Linked DNA regions of Homo sapiens: all the other regions are linked to region 2. The links are contacts of gene promoters, found by promoter capture Hi-C in blood cells and fetal thymus (Javierre and others, 2016). All regions are on one chromosome and are shown on one strand. Each heading gives the region's core, a stretch centred on a gene start or on the middle of the fragment in contact. The rest is flanking DNA. Distances are from core to core; before and after follow the strand shown. Region 1 has its middle 26 kb from the start of LINC02069. Region 2 holds the start of THPO (thrombopoietin). Region 3 overlaps LOC107986163 (a long non-coding RNA gene).

Region 1 (2,985 bases), core at 430-2,929, 370 kb after region 2:
GGTTTATGGAGGAAGATGAGGCCAAGCGAGAGTGACTCTGAAGGAAAGATTTCTGTTTGGATGGATCTGAGTGACGACGAGCGCTGTGCACCTCTGGGGGTGTGAGCGGCTGGGTAACCAGGTAAAGTCTCCCATGGCATCATGCCTGCGTCAGAGCCTGTGACCCATGACGAGGCCGGAAGGCAAATACTGATAGCGCCCAGTTCATAGAGCTGATTGTTTCCTATATCCTCTGCTGACAAGTGTTGAGGGTGTGAAATAGAGGATATCATAAAATAGAAGCAAGGCCCATTGTGAGGCGACAAACAGGACTTTCAGATCAGAAAAAGCCAGGTGCTTGCTGTCAGCATCAAGACCTCCAGAAGTAAAAAAGAAGACATTCTTGGAGCAAAAGTAGAATGGACAAAAAAAGTGCTTTAGCACACTGCTTGGAGTTTGAAAACATTTTTCTCCACTTAAACAACCCTTCTGTCATTCCTTAGAGGTCATACCTGAAAGCCAAAGAATCAGGCTGAGGCCACATCATTGGGGTTGACAGCAGGGGTTCTCAGTTTATCCCCAGGGGTACTGGAAATGAATTGAATGTTGCAATCTTGCTACCGCGGGGCCTGTAAAGCACTCAGCCCACTCCCCACCCCGAGCACCCAGGGAGAATATTTTTAGCTGTCTTTGTAATACCCACGCAAATTGTTCTCCTCCTTGTCCACTTCAACCCAGTCTCTTATTTTCTAGTTCCCACCCCTTCTTCACGCCACCTCCCCATTCCACCCCCCAGGCCAGGAGTCTGGAATGCTATGGTGTTCCAGGCCCCTGAGTCAGGTGCAGCTGCAGGGACCAAGGTAGGTTTTGGCACCTGGGGAGAGGGGCAATTCTTGATGGCTGAGACTAATGGGATTTCCAAGACAGTCATGAAGCAGAGATAGAACCAGTGCCCAAGTCTAGGTAGGACAAGCCAGGAAGGATGTACTGGAGAGCGCCTGGGGCCAAGAGGGAGCCCGTATCTGGGGCAGAACAGAGCCATGGACACTGAACGGATGAGCAGGCAGTGCCTTGTGCGCAGCTCTTCTGGCCACAGGCAGGGCATGCGTCTAGGGCATAAGGGCCAGGCCAGGGGAGAATGTCCTCAGCTGTATGACTCCCTGGCTCCACACTCTGGCCTTGATGCAACTTCAGATTCTCCTACTCCAGTAATGCACTGGAACCTGCTTTGTCGATTTGCTGAACTCGATGCACACACCTACTCTCAACTCAGTAGGTTCTTCCCTCCCTTCAAAGGGCCTGTGATCATGGTAAGAGACATTCCTGCCACCTACCTTAGCCCATTGGTGCCCCACTAGGGGGACCACCTCACCCGGCCTCCCTGCTTGGCTGGGGCAGGGGCTGCTGGACACTTAACTCGGCATCAGGCACCATGCCCATTGAGACCTGAGCTCAGACAAACAGAAGGAGGCCAGCCTCCAAAGGATGGAAACCACTTATCTGCACAGAGCCAACATTTCCATTAATTTAGTACACTGAGACCTTTTTTCAGTGAAGTATTTAAAAAGAAGATGAGGCCGGGTGCGGTGGTTCATGCCTGTAATCCCAGCCCTTTGGGAAGCTGAGGCGGTTGGATCACCTGAGGTCAGGAGTTCAAGATCAGCCTGGCCAACATGGTGAAACCCCGTCTCTACTAAAAATATAAAAATTAGCTGGGCGTGGCTGTGCATGCTTATAATCCCAGCTACTCTAGAGGCTGAGGCAGGAGAATTGCTTGAACCTGGGAGGCGGAGGTTGCAGTGAGGGGAGATTGCGCCACTACACTCCAGCCTAGGTGGCAGAGTGACACTTGGTCTCAAAAAAAAGAGAAAGTGAATAGAATCTGTTTTTTGGCTGTGTACGTTAAGGAGGCACACAAGCAAACTCCTAAGGTTTGTCTGATTGAATATTTCACTTTACAGTGTATCTTCAGGTCACACCAATCCAGTCTCTGGCAGACCACTGGTGTTACAAGGCCATAGGCCTTATTTTAAATTATTATTATTTTCTATTATTAAGCAAATTCTTATTTAATAATAGAAGCAAATAAGTGGTCTGATTCTTTCAGGCCTAGGCTTGTGAGCCTGTGTTAATTTGCATGGTTGAGTTATTCATGCTGTATTACAATCTAGTCTATCAATTTCTTTTTTTTTTTTTTCAAGACAAAGTTTTGCTCTTGTCGCCCAGGCTGGAGTGCAATGGCACGATCTCGGCTCACTGTAACTCTGCCTCCCAGGTTCAAGTGATTCTTCTGCCTCAGCCTCCCGAGTAGCTGGGACTATAGGCACGTGCCACCACTCCCGGCTAATTTTGTATTTTTAGTAGAGATGGGGTTTCACCATGTTGGCCAGGTTGGTCTCAAACTTCTGACCTCAGGTGATCCACCCGCCTCAGCCTCTCAAAGTGCTGGGATTACAGGCTTGAGCCACCATGGCTGATCTAGTCTATCAATTTCCTACACATTTTCCCCTCCAGATTGTCATTAATACAGAGTAAATTAAAACTCTAAACCCGGGGGTGGGGAAAGGGGGTTAGAATGGGATTTGAGAACTGAAGGATGATCTCTCTACATCTTGCCCCAGTGTCCTGGACCCCAAGAATAGAAGAAAGCAGACATTGCCGCTCACCACTCACTGTTCTCAACTCTAGAAGGAGAGGAAAATGGGAAGATAGCACAGATAAACACACCAACTCCACCCAAATGACTCAAGTGAAGGCGCGTCTCAGAGTCTTGTGTTTTTCTGAAACTCAAGGCCTGCACAAGGAGGAGAGCTGTCCAGCTGCCTGTGCTCGAATGGGAACTTCATAAATCTCCAGAAAGCCCCTGACCCCTTCTCTTTTCACTCTGGCTCTATTTCCTTCTTTGCTGAGGTCCCCATTTGTCAAAGCAGAAGGGAATTACATCAGTCAGTTTTGAATCAGTCAAAACAGAAGTAAGTGGACAGCCTTCTTTGGAAAGGAAGAAAC
Region 2 (2,900 bases), core at 148-2,647:
ACTCCAGCCTGGGCAATAAGAGTGAAACTCCGTCTCAAAAAAAAAAAAGAAAGAAAGAAAGAAAGAAAGAAAGCAAGAAAGCATATGGTGTCTCCTTTTTGTCAGGACTCCTCAGTGAATCGGACATGGATTTGGTGCCACCTACCCCTGCTGAGAGCAGCAGGACATGATATGTATACACACATATCTTAATTAGCCTTAAATTCTGAGCAACCTTGGTTGTTAGGTCAGAGAAAATCTGGGATGGGGATAGAGAAGGAAAGTATTGTGGCTTCAGCCTGGAGAAGAGAGTGGAAAATGGGATGCAGGGCCTGGGTGAGGAACTGGCAAACGGGCGCAATATGTTGAGGGGTAACTTCTGCGGTGGGGAGTGGGGCTGGGGAGGGGAACTGCACAAAGCTGTAACTGGGACCACTAGAGGTCAGGATTAAAAGGCGGTATGGGAGAAATTAACCTCTATTCTTTCCCTATCTACCCCCACACATAAAGCCACTGGAGCTTTTCTCTGGACTCCAAGTCCTGAAATACTCCATTATCTGAGGCCAAGAGATGGGCTAACAGTTCTGGGACTTCCTTCCTGAGACCAGCTGCCCAGGAACGGGCACCTGCTGGGTGATGCCCACCTTAGGGGCTTACCTTGTCTTAGGCGCCCACTAACATATCTGTCTCATAGCTCACACCTGCCTCCCTGCCCCCTTGGCAGAACCCCTTCCGGTTCCTTCACAGGACCCCCCACATGGCTTCCTCCTCCTTTCACAAGTTGTGCAAAGAGGCTTGCACCTGATTCAATATTGGGATTTCCTGTAGGTCTGTCAACATGAGTGGGCCCTCCTCCCATTACCCTCTCCTTGCGCCCTGGCTTGCCTGGCCCAGCTTCCCCAGCACCAGATTCAGAACCTTAAGCTAACGAGGAATGACCAGCTAAGAATGGGGATTGGGGCTGTGTCCATCTTACTACTGTGTTTGCTAAGCCCTAAGTGCAGCTCCCTCTCTTATTTTCTCCCTGGGCTCATGTCCCCTTTCCTTAGGGCCAGCCAGGGCTGTGCTGTATTCCACCAAGTAAGTGATCAGTCCCTCAGAAACCAGCACCCCACCCCCTACCCCTGCTCTGCCCTGCTCCTCCCATTCTGGGAAGGCTACACTCTTCTCGACAAAGGTCAGTGCCTGTAGGTTCCAGTTTGCCTGCCCCTCCCCCAGCTGGGAGCCCATTTCTCTTTGCTGTCCTTTCTACCCTCACATAACCCCACACCCTGCTGGCCACTCACCGGGTGGAGAAGGGCTCCAGGACCCAAGTGCACAGCAGGCAGCCCTCTGGGGAGCAGATGGGTAGGAAGACATGTGGCGGTGGGGCACAGCCCCTCCACAGCAGCAGGTCATACGCCTGCCTGGGCCACTTCTGCCCAATCAGAGAAGGGAGCCACCAGACACTGGTGAAGGCCCCCGGAAGTGACGCCTTCTCTTCCCTGGAGCCCCTGCCTGGACCAGGGTCCACTCCTCCACCCACACACACCACGGAGAAGATTTGGATAGGGGGATCCATCTTTTCCTGGACATGGGCAACCTGGGACCTGGAGGGGGACAGGAGCAGAAGTTTTTTTCCAGGAGGAATCTGGCAGGACATTTGTGTTGCTGGGGAAGAAGCACAGAGGTCTTGTTTAAGATTGGTGGGGTTTTCACTCCCTGGCTATCCAAATTTCTTTTCCCTGGACATCATACCTGCTGCTGAAATCCAACAGGATGCTTGCTTTCCTGCTTTTCTTTCTGTAATCCCCTAGGGAGTCCTATCTTGTCATTCCCCCTTTCGAAGTGGGAACACGGATATTGCCCACATGAGAGAAATCTCCTGTTATGGGTTGGTGTTATGGGGAAAGGGTTTGGACGGGTTGAGTGGACTGTCAGGTGCGGGGCACATGTATGTGCGCACACGTGCACTGGGTTAAGCCTGAGCTTAGGTGCTCGTCTGCTGGGGTCCAGTGGCTTAGATGGCTACACACACAGACCTCTGTGCCCAGGGCCCTCCTTTGCTTGTTCTGTCTCCGTCTTCCATCTCCTACCGTTCCACATGTGACAAGAGGAATAACCAGGCCCATGTGTCCCTGTCTTAGGAAAGACAGCTGCTGGACCTCCCCCGCAAATACCTCCCTGCTGGCCCCCCTTTTCCTTTGGCCCTGGCTCTAGCTCCTTTGCTTTCTTCCCAGTCCCAGTCTCCCCACAGTCTCTGTCCTCAGGGGCTTCCTGGCCTGACCTTGATCCCATCATCCCCCTGTCCCCCAGAACTTCCTCAGGCTCTCTCCTGTTCCTCCTCCCCAAGGATGGGCATGTCTGCTGAGAAGTGTGGCCTAGATCCTGGAATTTTCCCGTCCAGCCAGACGAGATGTCTCCCAAGATTAGGAAGGAGGGTGCTGGGATAGCTGGGAGGATAGTGGGTGTGTGTGGGAGGGAGAGACAGGAGACAGGGAGGCAGGCATGACCAGGGAACCAAGAGAAAGGAGGCTGGGAGTGGGCTGGAGAGGCAGAGGGTCCCTTGGGTGAAGGAAGGGGGTGAGAAAGCAAGAGGGGACTGTCGAATGCGCCTGAGGATAAGTTACAATGAGAGGGAGATACTGTCACTCCACAGAAGGGGGAATGCTGCCGGTTTCTGGCTAGGTCCCTGTCCTGGGTAACACAAGAATGAGGAGCGACCTCAGAGAGAAGGTAGGGAGGCAGGCTAGGCAGTGAGAGAGGGTGGTGAGGGTTTGGGGGGCGCTGTGGGCCCAGGCAGGGGGAGATCGGCTGATGGACCTTTCCTGTACGTTGTCATCTTTAAAGACAAGTCTTCATCCTTCGGGCGGAACCGGGTCCTCGCTCACAGAGCGGTCCAGGCCTCAGGCCTAGCCTCTGCCCCTCCCTAGCCTGAGGCT
Region 3 (2,952 bases), core at 135-2,634, 350 kb after region 2:
ATTTTTTTATTTTTTCTGAGACAGTGTCTTGCTCTGTCACCCAGGTTGGAGTGCAGTGGTGCGATCTCGGCTCACTGCAAGCTCCTCCTCCCGGGTTCATGCCATTCTCCTGCCTCAGCCTCCCGAGTAGCTGGGACTACAGGTGCCCACCACCACATCTGGCTAATTTTTTGTATTTTTAGTAGAGATGGGGTTTCACCGTGTTATCCAGGATGGTCTCGATCTCCTGACCTCATGATCCGCCTGCCTCGGCCTCCCAAAGTGCTGGGATTACAGGTGTGAGCCACCGCTCCCGGCGGGGGTCTTCTTCAAATAACAGCCTTTCCTCTGGCCCTTTGGTCTGTGATCTGACTGACCCCCTGTGTCCTGGTCTGAGGAACACCAGCTCCTACAACTGACAACCACAAAGGGATGCTGCACTTTTTCCCCGTGGGTCTCTGGCAGGGTCTCACTCTGAGCTACAACTTTTTCTTTCCTTCACTCAGCAAATGTTTTCTGAAGGCCTGCTTTGTGCCAGATTCTGGGGTGCAGGGATGAGCAACGACACATTGTCCCATCCCACACTGATCTCAGGTGCTTTCTTCCTCAACTAAACCATATACCCTTCCTGGAGGTGACTTGGGGGGCCATCCCTCAGCAGAAGCCAGACTCCTCACTCTACCCCATTCCAAACCTTCCCCTCAGACCCACAAAAGATACTCAACTTCAGTCACCCTCTGCAGACTCAGATTTAGTACAAATGACTGGCTTTTGCAGTAGTGTGGGAAGAGCTGCAACAGGAGCATACAGAAGCTCTGGGAGCCCACGGGGAAGGGCAGCTGAACCAGCCTGGGGTGAATAGGGAAGCTTTCCTGGAGGAGGGGATGCCTGAGTGTAGTCCCAAGGAATGGCTATGATTTGGCAAAGGCAAAGGATGAGTGCATTGGTCAGGGTCCTAAAAGGGAACAGGCCCCCTTAAGTTAGGATGATTTGATGAGGGTTTATGCACAAAGAGGTTATTTGCAAAGGTTTAGGCAGAGTGTGGGAGAACAACACAAGATAGTACAGAAACTCAGGGTCAGTGGCAGCAGAGCTGTTTCCACCCCTAGGCCAGAAGACATGGGAGAGGGGCAGCCTGTACCCTGGAAAGAGGGAGAGTCGTGTCATTCAGGTCAGCTTCCCTCTAGGGAATCAGCCAGCCTGATGCAACCTTACAAGGAGGGAATCAATTGCCTTGACCTCATTCTTTCCTGTCTTCCAAACTCTTGCTGGTGGTCCCCATTGGCCAAACCCAACCAGGAGCCAGAGGGCACTGGAGCTGATTGATGTGATCTATACAGGGCAGACTTTGGGGCACAGAGCAGGCTGGAGAGTGGATCTGGCGTGGTAAGCAGAAGATATCCAGCATGCTGGGTCAGGGAAGGCCTTTCTAAGAAGAGGAGAACAATTTGTGAAGGCCCCATTCTTACACAAGAATGTGTAAGTTGGGGAAATGTTTTCTTTATGTCTGGAGTAGAGTGAGTAGGAATGGGGGCGTCCATCATGAAAGGCCTTGCATGTCTTTCTAACGAATGTGAAAATTTATCCCAAAGGCGATGGGAGCCACTGAAGCATTTTTGGCAGGAGGTGACCTGATCAGATTTGTGTTCTGAAATGATCACTCTCGCCCTAGTGTGGACGTGGTCTGGAGGAACACTTCAGACTAGAGATGGTGAGGCCTGAACCAAGACAATGGCGATGGAGAAAGAGGTGGATTGATTTGAGAAATGTTTAGGAAGTAGTCTCAAAAGGCGATGAAGGATTGAATGTGGAGGATGAAGGAAAGGGAGACGTCGAGAGCAGTGTCTGGGTTTCCACTTGAAGCTCAGGCTCAGGAGGGAGCGTGAGGGAGCAGGTTGCCTGTCCAGCTGTTGCTTCCTCGATTTTGCTTTCTGGATTTGGGAGAAAGCTTAGATTGGCCCTCATTAGCAGGACCTCAGGCTTTCAAGGGGGTCTTGGAGGGGCTTCCTAGCCATGCCACAGGTTGGCCTCCCTTGGTTGTCTCGAGAGCACGCCAAACTAGAGAGCAGGCGAAGTCACCTTTTGCTGCCACCCTGGGACCTACTGAGCCGGGACCTGCTCTCTCCCACCCCCTGCCCCTTCCCATATGGACAGGGGATGTGTTTTCTTTTAACTTGCTTCATTGCAGGAGCAAATGAGGTCCAGCTGAGGGGAGGGAACCAGCCATGGTGACAGAGCATGGGCTGTGTGAGCTTGGGTGAGAGTGGGGGCCCTGTCACCCTCAGTTTCCTTCCACTGGCTTTTCAGACAGCTGTGGTCCCTGTAGGCTCAGATTTCATCCCTAGCAATTCTGAAGAACCTGCTATCCAGTAACAGGTCCCATTCCTTGGAGTTCTTTACCTAGAAACCTGGAATAATTTTCTTTTGTTGCAGAGGAAAATGCTGAGGTTGTTCTTTCATGGTCTAAGAACTTGAGTAGTCATGGCAACGCATGAGGGTGGGGTGGGTGAGGTGGGGGCGTCTTAGCAGTGTTTCGTTTCAAATGCCAGATTAAAGGAAAAGCGTCTTTGGAGTTCGCCTCATTAAGACATAGCTCAGTGCAGTCTCGTTGATGGTTCTCCAGCTCATCATTTTACACATTACATTTTCCCTACATTTCCTCGCCTGATGGGCAGTCTTCTGGGACTTCTCCCTGAGAATTTTGGCTCCGAGACTTCTCCAAGAATTTCAGCTCATTTCTGGCAAGAGCGTTGGTGGGGGTGACTCTTTTGTTCCTGTCGAGGACCTTGTCTTGTAAGTCCTTTGCTTCCAATGGGACTGCCACTTTAAAAAGCCAAAGGTAACATGTTTATTGAGAGTTTGTTCTGGCTACAAAAAGAAAGATGGTGATTGAGCAGCCATTTCCTTTTCACACTATACTTTTGGTCCAGGATCTTTCTCTCAGAGTTTGGCCAGGTCAAGCCCAAAGCTGGC

What was found. Contacts are between HindIII fragments. The CHiCAGO score rates a contact against its expected background, and 5 or more counts as called.
Region 1: a contact is called between a fragment that was not itself captured here and the fragment with the promoter of THPO in region 2, in 2 of 17 cell types (megakaryocytes and M1 macrophages). The highest score is 5.2, in megakaryocytes.
Region 3: a contact is called between a fragment that was not itself captured here and the fragment with the promoter of THPO in region 2, in 3 of 17 cell types (M2 macrophages, naive CD4 T cells and M1 macrophages). The highest score is 6.2, in M2 macrophages.

The regions. Positions count from the first base shown.
Region 1 is chr3:184,745,568-184,748,552 of GRCh38, forward strand. No RefSeq gene overlaps it. Among named protein-coding and RNA genes, the nearest start is that of LINC02069, 26 kb to the right of the region's middle. RefSeq lists an enhancer at 602-1,103. The HindIII fragment of the contact is 7,396 bases long and covers 1-2,985 here.
Region 2 is chr3:184,376,810-184,379,709 of GRCh38, forward strand. THPO (thrombopoietin) reads right to left here and starts at 1,398. Exons shown (of 6, transcript NM_000460.4): 1 at 1,266-1,398. The HindIII fragment of the contact is 10,240 bases long and covers 1-2,900 here.
Region 3 is chr3:184,729,859-184,732,810 of GRCh38, forward strand. The region is part of intron 2 of LOC107986163 (a long non-coding RNA gene); the gene reads left to right. Among named protein-coding and RNA genes, the nearest start is that of MAGEF1, 19 kb to the left of the region's middle. The HindIII fragment of the contact is 1,081 bases long and covers 845-1,925 here.